Linked DNA regions of Homo sapiens: region 2 is linked to region 1. Evidence: promoter capture Hi-C in human tissues and cell types (Jung and others, 2019). All regions are on one chromosome and are shown on one strand. Each heading gives the region's core, a stretch centred on a gene start or on the middle of the fragment in contact. The rest is flanking DNA. Distances are from core to core; before and after follow the strand shown.

The links. The method cuts DNA at HindIII sites, captures the fragments that hold promoters and counts their contacts. A contact is called where the count stands out against the background at its distance.
Region 2: a fragment that was not itself captured here is called in contact with the fragment with the promoter of CYP4F2 in region 1 in 1 of the 25 tissues and cell types used here (dorsolateral prefrontal cortex).

What each region holds. Positions count from the first base shown.
Region 1 is chr19:15,895,793-15,901,868 of GRCh38, reverse strand. It overlaps CYP4F2 (cytochrome P450 family 4 subfamily F member 2), which reads left to right and starts at 3,795. Exons shown (of 13, transcript NM_001082.5): 1 at 3,795-3,843; 2 at 4,257-4,455. The coding sequence starts at 4,258. The HindIII fragment of the contact is 5,329 bases long and covers 1,251-6,076 here.
Region 2 is chr19:14,816,916-14,822,527 of GRCh38, reverse strand. All of the region lies in intron 1 of OR7C1 (olfactory receptor family 7 subfamily C member 1), which reads left to right. Among named protein-coding and RNA genes, the nearest start is that of OR7A5, 15 kb to the left of the region's middle. The HindIII fragment of the contact is 5,601 bases long and covers 1-4,723 here.

The sequences.
Region 1 (6,076 bases), core at 2,546-5,045:
GAGTGACATACAGAAAAGAAGACTACTATTAAATCATTGGCAATATCCCTCTGTATTAGGCCACTCTTGTGTTGCTATAAAGAAATACCTGGCTGGGTATGGTGGCTCATGCCTGTAATCCCAGCATTTTAGGATGCCAAGGTGGGAGAATTGCTTGAGGCTTGGAGTTTAAGACCAAAAAAAAAAAAAAAAAAAAAGGAAATACCTGAGACTGGGTAATTTGTAAACAAAAGAGGTTTAACTGGATCACGGTTCTGCAGGCTGTACAGGAAGCATAGTGGCATCTGGTTCTGGGGAGGCCTCAGGGAGCTTTTACTCGTGTTAGAAGGCAAAGTGGGAGCGGGCACATCACTTGGCAAAAGCAGGAGCAAGAGAGAGAGGGTCAGGTGCTACACAGTTTTAAATAACCATATCTTGCAAGAACTCACTAACACGAAGACCACATCAAGCCATGAGGGATCCGCCCCCATGATCCAAACACCTCCCACCAGGCGCCACATCCAGCATTGGGGATTACAATTCAACATGAGATTTGGGAAGGGACACAGACAGACCCAAACCATATCAACCCCTAATGCCAGCAGAACCACTGAGTAGCTTTAGGATCTTCAGAAAGGATTTTAAAGCTCGAATAGTCCCAGCACTGTAATAATTACAAGAGAAAATGTAACTACAATGTAGCATCTACACAATAATTGTGATTCTCTTCTCCGTTCTTGTTCAATCCAATGTTTAATATAAAAATTCAAGTGAAGGTAAATAAAAGCATTGGGGAATGACCTTGCCATGTGGTATTAAGAAGAAGATTCTCAAGCACAACTGCCTAAGTTGCAATTACCACAGCTACATCTAGAAGGAAGATGTGAGAGTTTTCATTCCACATTAACTAGAAACCTAGCATGAGGCAGATGGCTGGAAGCAGTCGAGGGAGTGTCCAAGACCTTACACAGAAAATCATGTTCAGAGAGGAAGCTTGTTGCTCATTCCTTTTTTGTGCCCAGCTGCCTGGGTTCCCTTCTCCACCATTTTATTTGGTAGTAAGCTATCTAGAGAACTTGCTCCCTACGCTGAGCCAATAAGCGAAATGTGTGAGCTTTGAAGGATACAGTTTCATTTCGAGGAATGGAGAATATCTGTGCAAAGTTGGGGCAGTTCAGAGCAGAGTGAGCTGCAGACTGTTCTGCAGGTATGGGGCTGGAAGTCTTCACACGACCTCATAGTCCTGGCACCCAAACTTACTCAGACAATGGTGTGTCCGGAATTGGTGGGTTCTTGGTCTCACTGACTTCAAGAATGAAGCCGCGGACCCTCGCGGTGAGTGTTACAGCTCTTAAGGTGGCGCGTCTGGAGTTTGTTCTTTCTGATGTTCAGATGTGTTCGGAGTTTCTTCCTTCTGGTGGGTTCGTGGTCTCGCTGGCTCAGGAGTGAAGCTGCAGACTTTCGCGGTGAGTGTTACAGCTCATAAAAGCAGTGTGAACCTAAAGAGTGAGCAGCAGCAAGATTTATTGCAAAGAGTGAAAGAACAAAGCTTCCACAATGTGGAAGGGGGCCTGAGCGGGTTGCCACTGCTGGCTCGGGCAGCCTGCTTTTATTCTCTTATCTGGCCCTACCTATGTCCTGCTGATTGGTAGAGCCAAGTGGTCTGTTTTGACAGGGCGCTGATTGGTGCGTTCACAATCCTTGAGCTAGACACAAAGGTTCTCCACGTCCCCACCAGACTCAGAAGCCCAGCTGGCTTCACCCAGTGGATCCCGCACCGGGGCTGCAGGTGGAGCTGCCTGCCAGTCCCGCGCCGTGCGCTCGCACTCCTCAGCCCTTGGGTGGTCGATGGGACTGGGCGCCCTGGAGCAGGGGGCGGCGCTCATCGGGGAGGCTCGGGCTGCACAGGAACCTACGGAGGCCGGGGGCTCAGGCATGGCGGGCTGCAGGTCCTGGGCCCTGCCCCGCGGGAAGGCAGCTAAGGCCCGGCGAGAAATCGAGCGCAGCGCCGGTGGGCTGGCACTGCTGGGGGACCGAGTACACCTTCCCGAGCAGCCGCTGGCCCGGGTGCTAAGCCCCTCATTGCCCGGGGCTGGCAGGGCCGGCCGGCTGCTCCGAGTGCGGGGCCTGCCAAGCCTACGCCCACCTGGAACTCTAGCTGGCCCGCAAGTGCCGCGCGCAGCCCCGGTTCGTACTCGCGCCTCTCCCTCCATACCTCCCTGCAAGCTGAGGGAGCCGGCTCTGGCCTTGGCCAGCCTAGAAAGGGGCTCCTACACCTATAAGTGAGAATATGCGGTGTTTGGTTTTTTGTTCTTGCGATAGTTTACTGAGAATGATGATTTCCAATTTCATCCATGTCCCTACACAATGAGAACATATGGACACAGGAAGGGGAACATCACACTCTGGGGACTGTTGTGGGGTGGGGGGAGGGGGGAGGGATAGCATTGGGAGATATACCTAATGCTAGATGACGAGTTAGTGGGTGCAGCGCACCAGCATGGCACATGTATACATATGTAACTAACCTGCACATTGTGCGCATGTACCCTAAAACTTAAAGTATAATAATAATAATAAAAAAATCCAAAAAAAAAGAAAAGAAGAGAAAAGAAAGGGGCTCCCACAGTGCAGCGGTGGGCTGAAGGGCTCCTCAAGTGCCGCCAAAGTGGGAGCCCAGGCAGAGGAGGCGCCGAGAGCGAGTGAGGGCTGTGAGGACTGCCAGCATGCTGTCACCTCTCAGTGGGAGCAGGTGTGACAAGAGTTGGGCAAATCAGACCTTTAATCCACCCTGATAGGCTGGAGTGTGGGCTTATGGCATTTCTCCTTTGACCCAATTAACCTCCACTCCCAATGTATCTCTGTGCAGAAGGCTCAGCTAGGTGTATCAGCCATTGTAAATCCTCAACATAAATTATAATTTAACCTAGAATACAGAGACTAGGTAGCAGGAGGAGAGGAAATGTAGAGATACTAATCTCTTCTCCCTTATCAGAAAGAAACCTAGCATAAGAAATTTCACGCTTAATGGGCCAAAGAGTAAATCAGAAAACTCCATGGGTGATGGTATGCTCATGGTGGTGGTGGTGGTGATGGGGAATTATTTGCCCTCCTGTGACCTCCCTTGGATTAATTTCTCCCCAGGACAATGGGAAAAATCATTTAATCCTTGGAGTTTTTTTTTTTTTTTTTTTTTTTTTTTTTTTTTTTTTTGCTTGAGAGTGACTCTGATCCTGTTTCTGATGGTCATGTTCCTCAGCATCATACTGAGTAAGTCACTGGCCTTGTAGCATCTGGAGTGATTGGAGTGATCCAAGATCCCTAGTTCCCATGTCACAAATGAGGATCCCACATATCTGGGACAGAGATGGAACATTATTTCTGGGTGTGTCTATCTAATCTATTCATCCTATCTATCTAATTTCTCATCTATATATATATTTGCCTACCCATCCATCCATCAATCCATCTTAGCTGTACGTTTATCCATTCCATCTATTTATCCTATTATCTATGTATCTATCTATCATCTATTAATAGCTATCTATCCATCTGTCTAATATATCCATTATCTATATCTACTTTATCTATCTACCTAATGTATCCATCCTATCTACTCTATCTATCTGTGCATCTACCCATCCATCTGGACCCTGAGCTGATTCCTCTGCACCCAGCTGGCCTGACGCCAGGTGTTGATTGGCTGCCCAGGCTCAGGAGACACATCCAGGCTGCAGGGATTGGTTGGCCCAGCCCAACCCAGCCAGCCCTCCCACAGCCTTTGCTATATCAAGGGCCAGGGTCAAAGGCCTCCCAGCAGACAGAGAGAGGAGGTTGTCTGGGACAGACTGCTCCTGACAGAAGGTGCCAGGCTGGGGGTGGCAGGCCTGGGGGGGGTCCTGGCCTGGGATGGAGAGGGGCACTGCCCAAGGCCCACGCAGCTCCTGGGTGCTGGCCTGGAGGATGGGTGGTTTCCGAGTAACTGAAACCAAGCCCCTGGCAACCTCACAGTGATTCAGGCTGGGCCTTTCTGGACTTTAATCAGTCTCTCTCTCTCTTTCCCATTCTAAGTGCTTACTAGGGAACTGGAGGCCACTTGGCTGCTGGTTTTGGTTGGGCCTTTCTGGACTTTACCTCTCAGCCCCTTTTTACCCATCCCTGAGCCCTCCCTGCTCTACCTCCGGCACTGCCCGTCCCTGCCTCTCCACTGTCCCTGGAGGTCCCTGGGCCGTTCTCTGGGCCTCAGGATCTCACCGTCCATCCCGTCTGCCCTGCAGGATGTCCCAGCTGAGCCTGTCCTGGCTGGGCCTCTGGCCAGTGGCAGCATCCCCTTGGCTGCTCCTCCTGCTGGTCGGGGCCTCCTGGCTCCTGGCCCATGTCCTGGCCTGGACCTACGCCTTCTATGACAACTGCCGCCGCCTTCGGTGTTTCCCACAACCCCCAAGACGGAACTGGTTTTGGGGACACCAGGGCATGGTGAGTGTGGCAGCAGGATGGGTCTAGGTCTCAGGATGGATGGACTTCCTGAGGGGTACGAGGCTTAGGGAGTGGGGGTGAAGGGGTGGGCTGGGATCTGGGGTGGCAGAGAAGCAGAGGAGGCATCTTACTCATTCCTCTGCTTATTCATTTCTGTGAGGTGCCTACGCAAGCCCTTCTCACTTCCTTGTCCTCCCACTCCAGGCCTGCATTGAATCCTTTTCCTGCCTGTCTTCCCACATTAATGCACCTCTGCGGGGCTCCTGGGCAGAGGGTTGGCTGCACAGAGAGGCGAGTCCCTGGCATTCCCACATTCTCCATTGCTGGACTCGAGGCTTCTTATGCCCACTGTCCAGGGTCCTCTCCTTGCCTGGACTATTTCCTGTTATGAGGGTACAGCTGGGCCAGAGGAGAGGCATGGGCCGTCTCCCACTTCCACTACACCCGAAGGCACCTTTCTCTTATATTCTTCTTCTTATCTCCCTCTTATCAATGAGACCTGTTGCCAAACCCAGATAAAAGTTGGCCACTCACTTCACCTTTCAGAAGCTTTCCTTGGCCTTTCTCCTCCCCGTGACCTTGCCCTCTGACTTAGACCGCTCTCCTCTTTGGGGAATGTGGTCTTAGTCTGCTCATTTGCAAATGGCAGGATTGATGGATGTGTCCACAGATAAAGTGGAAGGGTGCACAGGACACACTAGCACAGAGCCTGCTGCAGAAGCTGCTCCCAGGTGGGAGCCATTGTCCTGATGGACAGTTAGAGTCACCTCTGCTCCACTAGTGGCTGCTGAAAAGGGAAGGTCTCCCATGTGCAGAACCTTCTCCATGGGAGGAACTGGAGCCTCTGTGGATCAGCCAGGACATGAAGGCATGTGGGGACCAGCCTTAGGGACATGTCCTGAGGCGATACTGCTCCCCACAAATCTCCCCTGTGAGGACCTCCCCATATAGCTGCCTCTGGGCTGAAATGACTCCCAGAAAAAGAAAATCCTTCCTCTCAAGATAACTGGGCCTCTGTGAGTGGACAGTGCGTCTTCTCCCTCTGCCCTGGGATGCACCCTTGGGACTTGGAGATGGACCCAAGAGAGATAGAGCAGGAGGAATGTGGATAGATAGATAGATAGAGCAGGAGGAATGTAGATAGATAGATAGATAGATAGATAGATAGATAGATAGATAGCTAATAGGATAGATAGATAGATGCACAGATAGGATGGATAGATGGATGGATGGATGGATGGACAGGCACGTAGGTAGATAGATAATAGAATAGATGGATGCATGGACACATGGATGCACAGATAGCATGGATGGATGGATGGATGGATGGATGGATGGATGGATAGATAGATAGACAAATAATAGGACATATGGATGCATGGACACACGGATGCACAGATAGGATGGATGGATGGATGGATGATGGATGGATGGGTAGATAGAGTAGATAGGATGGATAGATTATGTAGACAGATGGAGTAGATATATATGATGGATAGATTAGACGGATAGATGGCTATTAATAGATGATAAGCAGACAGACAGATGAATATATGGATGGATGAAAGCACAGATAAAATGGATTGATGGATAGATGGGTAGGCAGATAGATATATAGATA
Region 2 (5,612 bases), core at 674-3,173, 1.1 Mb after region 1:
CTGTAATGCCAGCTACTCAGGAGGCTGAGGCAGGAGAATTGCTTGAACTTGGGTGGTGGAGGTTGCAGTGAGCTGAGATCGCACCACTGCACTCTAGCCTGGGCGACAGAGCGAGACTCCATCTCAAAAAAAAAAAAAAAAAAAAAAAAAAAAAGACAGGAGATAAGTGCTGATGAGGATCTGGAGAAAAGGGAGCCCATGTACCTTTTTGGTGGAAACTTAAGGTAGTACAAGCATTATAGAAAATAGTTGGGGGTTCTCCAAAAAACTAAAAATAGAACTACCATATGTGTATAATCCCATGACTGCATATATAGCCAAAGGAAATGAAATCAGTATGTTGAAGAGATATCTGCACTTCCGCATTCGTTGCAACACTATTTACAAAAGCCAACATATGGAGTCAACCTCAGTGTCCGCCAAAGAATGAATAGATCAAGAATACGTGGTGCATATCCACAATAGAACACCACTCAGCCTTTAAAAAGAAGGAAATCCTGTCATTTGTGACCACACGGATGAACCTGGAGGACATTACATTAAATGATAAGCCAGGCACAGTGAAACAAATTCTGCACACTCGTACATGGGGAATCTTAAAATGATAATGAACTCATAGAAGTAGAAAGAAGAATGGTGACAATGGTGAGGGACATTTTGTGTTGTCCCAGCAATTGCTGATGAGGAAATAAAAGATACAGGGAGATGCTAACACAGGTGTGGAGGACACACTAGGAGAATGTTGTCCATATTCTGAGATTGGGACTGATTGAGGGGTTGTGCTATGGTACGTAAGATTTAAATAGCATAGAATGAATAAAATGCAGAAGAAAATATTCAAGCACATCATATATGATAAGGGTACCTACAAACTAGTTTCATGATACTCTTTCTTCAGCCACCTGTGTGTGTATATTTGCATGTGCAGGCATGCTGGCTCATGATGTAAAAGGTATTTCTTACTTTCAGACACAAAGAGTGTGGAATCCACTGCAGTAAAGGCGGAATAGTTTTGTTTTGTTTTTTGTTTTTTGTTTTTAAGGCAAGTTCCTGGGAAATGCAGCCTGAATGAAGAGCTCAAGAGAAGAGCCACACTGTTGGGAGAACAGGTAGCCAGCGTAGAACTGACATTATCTCCGGACTCCAGGGCCCATACCCTGAGCAGAATTTCATTGATCCACTTGCCTCATTACAGAATTCACATCAGACCCCTGATCTAATTGTTATTCCTGTATCTATTCCATATTTATGGACCACACATGTTTTGTTTTTGTTTTTATTTTTGCTTTGAGACAGAGTTTCACTCTTGTCACCCAGGCTGGAGTGCAATGGCGCGATCTCAGCTCACAGCAACCTCCACCTCCCAGGTTCAAACGATTCTCCTGCCTCAGCCTCCCAAGTAGCTGGGATTACAGGCACCTGCCACTACACCCAGCTAATTTTTGTATTTTTAGTAGAGACAGGGTTTCACCATGTTGGCCAGGCAGGTCTCGTGATCCACCCACCTCAGCCTCCCAAAGTGCTGGGATTACAGGTGTGAGCCACCATGCCCGGCCCACACATGTTTTTATATGGTCCAGTAGTAGATGAGGCAGGCCTTTCTCTCACTTTTCCTTGTGGGATCTGTTCTTTGTAATTCCCAGGTATTGAGTTTTTCCCTCTTTTCTGACAAATCCAGTGGGCACTCTCTAGTCCAATTCCGTTCCTCGTGCAAGATGCAAAGACCTCCCCAGACCATACTTTAGAAAATCCTGCCCCTGCCACGACAATCTATCATTTTTCTTCATATGACTTACCTCTGGGGACTTTATGTCAGACACACATTTATTCCATTGTTTTCTGCCCTTTCCATTACAAGGTAAGATCTAAATTAGCAGGGATTTCACCTGCTTTCTTCACTGTTGTGGTTTCACAAAAAGTTGTACGTCTACATAGGAACACTTTTTTTTTTCCTGTGTGATTTTTTTTCTTTAAGGTCTGGGATACATGTGCAGAACGTGCAGGTTTGTTACATAGCTATACATGTGCCATGGTGGTTTGCTGCACCTGTCAACCCGTCATCTAGGTTTTAAGCCCCTCATGCATTAGGTATTTGTCCTAATGATCTCCCTCCCCTTGCCCCCGACCCCCCAACAGGCCCCCATGTGTGATGTTCCCCTCCCCATGTCCATGTATTTTCATTGAGAAACACATTTTTTTAAATTAAGAACTTATTAAACAAAAGGAATGGCTGGGAAAATAAAGCTTGGTTAAATAAGGTGGATTCAAAACAACCACATTGAACAAAACTGAATAAAATTCTAAAATAAATGATCTATCCCGGCGCAGTGGCTCATGCCTGTAATCCCAGCACTTTGGGAGGCCAAGGTGGGCAGATCAACCTGAGGCCAGGAGTTTGAGACCAGCCTGACTGCCATGGTAAAACCCTGTCTCTACTACAAATACAAAAAATTAGCTGGGCAGAGTGGCGGCGCATGCCTGTAATCCCAGCTACTCGGGAGGCTGAGGCACAAGAATCACTTGAACCCAAGAGGTTGAGGCTGCAGTGAGCTGAAATTGTGCCACTGCACTCCAGGCTGGGTGACAGAGCGAGACTGTATCTCTAAATAAATAAATAAACGCATAAAAATAAAATAAATGATCAAAGAAAAAGATAGAAAATAACCATTAATCACATCAACATGGGTTTCGAATTTGAGATTAAGTTGACAAAAACTTGGAAATGAAAGAATATAAAAATATACTTTCTTAAAGCAGTGGAAGAAAACAACAGTATGTAAAGTTATGATTTCATCTTATACAAACTGAAATGGATTAAAATATGCTTACATGAAGAATACACAGGAAATCTCAACGTGGGTATAAGAATATGTTCCACATAGTGGCAAAAGATAACCACTATTTTTAAAAGTAGTTCTGATTAATTGGAAACGTGGAATCAACCTAAATGCCCATCAACAATAGACTGGTTAAAGAAAATGTAGTACATATACACCCTGGAATACTATGCAGCCATATAAAGGAATAAGATCATGTCCTTTGCAGGGATGTGGCTGGAGCTGAAAGCCATTATCCTCAGCAAACTGACCCAGGAACAGAAAACCAAATACCACATGTTCCCACTTATAACTGGGAGCTGAAGAGTGAGAACACGGGGACACAGGGAGGGGAACGACACACACTGGAGCCTGTCAGGGGGTGGGGGTGAGGGGAAGGAGAGCATTAAAAAAAATAGCTAATGCATGCTGGGCTTAATACCTAGGTGATGGGTTGATGGGTGCAGCAAACCACCATGGCACATGTTTACCTATGTAACAAACCTGCATATCCTGCACATGTACCCCCGAAATTAAAATAAAATTTTAAATTTAAAAAAAATAGATCTGATTGCAAAAAAGAAAAAAGAAAGGTGGCAATAAAGAAAAAAGATGTGGACACAGGAAGGGGAATATCACACACCGGGGACTGTTATGGGGCAGGGGGAGGGGGGAGATATACCTAATGCTAAATGACGAGTTAATAGGTGCAGCACGCCAACATGGCACATGTGTACATATGTAACCAACCTGCGTGTTGTGCACATGTACCCTAAAACTTAAAGTATAATAAAAAAGAAAGAAAAAAATGTGTGAAATAAGGTGGAAATACATATAAAAGGTGATTTATTGCGATGAAATATGTAGAAAGCTTTTTAAACTCTCTAAACTATCTAAAATGCAACAGAAGGGAGATACACAGTGTGACCCACTGATAGACCTGACCGCACAAAACTGATAAACTTTAACGCATTCACCCCAAGCGCATCTATAAATACAAAAAGAACTAAATGGCAAACAACAACGTTGGTGAAAAAACGTTCACCAACTCCCATTCTTATGTTTGAAAAAAATGCAATCAAATACAGGAATGAAAACACTGCAAACTCGCTATACAAAAGCAAAGATCTCGCAAAGACTGTTTGCAATAGAAACAGGAACTATCTAACAAACCCACTAATCGATTAAGCCTCACAAGTAAGGAAGTAATTGCAAAGTAAAGCTTGCTATCATACCCCTTTTCACTTATTAAATAAACATATTTTTTTCATCTGGATAACCCGCATGAGAAAAGATACTTTAAAATGTATGACTTATCAGCCGGGCGCGGTGGCTCACGCCTGTAATCCCAGCACTTTGGGAGGCAGAGACGGGCGGATCACGAGGTCAGGAGATCGAGACCATCCTGGGTTACACGGTGAAACCCCATCTCTACTAAAAAATTCAAAAAAATTAGCCGGGCGTAGTGGCGGGCAACTGTAGTCGCAGCTACTCGGGAGGCTGAGGCAAGAGAACGCCGTGAACCTGGGAGGCGGAGCTTGCAGTGAGCCGAGATCGTGCCACTACTGCGCTCCAGTCTAGGGGACAGAGCGAGACTCCGTCTCAAAAATAAATAAATAAATAAATAAATAAATAAATAAATAAATAAAATAAATAAAATGTATGACTTATTAACTGCTGTGGCAAGGTAGCATTTGCAAATAATACATTGGTGTGATCTTTTTAATGGATACAGGAACATACTCAAAATACACCCAATATTAAAAATATTTTAAAAGCCCTCACTTTGCTGCATATCCTTTACACTTAATACTCAGTTTTTTTTCTCTCTTACCTGCAAAACTCCTTGACTATGAACTGATGTTACCAGCACCACTTTTTAGCTCCCATTCCTTCTTCAGTCTTACCAATTGGAATTCCATTCCCACCACTTAATTGTCAGCAGTGGTCTCTGCATTGCTGAGTCTAACAGACACTGCTCTTTTTAGCATACTAAATAGATTGATTATGAAATAATCAGTCAACTAAGCAAACAAACATAGCAACCTCTTGGCGCTGGCCTAAGTTGGATTGGCTCTCAGGTGACTTCAGGTAAACATTCCCAGCTTCCGTTCTCTCTGAACCTTTCCCATGAAACCTGCTGAGGGCTCCTGGGCTCACCTGGATGGGGTCTCAGAGAAGAGGATCTCCAGATGGAAGTCTGAATTTTACCCTGAATGGTTGATGATAGAGGATGAAGCTCTGTCCCCAGACGAGACAGCAGGAAAGAGTGAGGCATAGGTCCTCTAGCCAGATTTATGTTCTACATAGCGGCAAAAGATGACCACTATTTTTTAAAGTAGATCCATTAATTGGAGTGAAAACATGGACTCGACCTAAATGCCCATCAACAACAGACTGGTTGAAGAAAACGTGGTACATATACACCATGGAATACTATGCAGCCATAAAAAGGAATGAGATCATGTCCTGTGCAGAGTCTTAACAATTGAACTTCCATTCCCACCTGGAATGGGCTGAAGGGTCCCATTCAGCCCAGTCCCCAGTCTGGGACTCAGATTAGCTAGCCTACTTTTGGGGTATGATAGCAAGCTTTACTTTGCAATTATTTCCTTGTGAGGGTTAATCTATTAGTGGGTTTGTTAGACATTTTTTTTCTCTATTGTATTCTCTGAGGGCCACAGCTCCCTGTATCTGCTCATTAGGCACCTCCCCTCTTACTGCTGGAACTTACTAACCCGTAAGTGTCTGATTTCTCTGTGGACTCCTGTCTGGACAGTAAGGAAATTTTTCCTG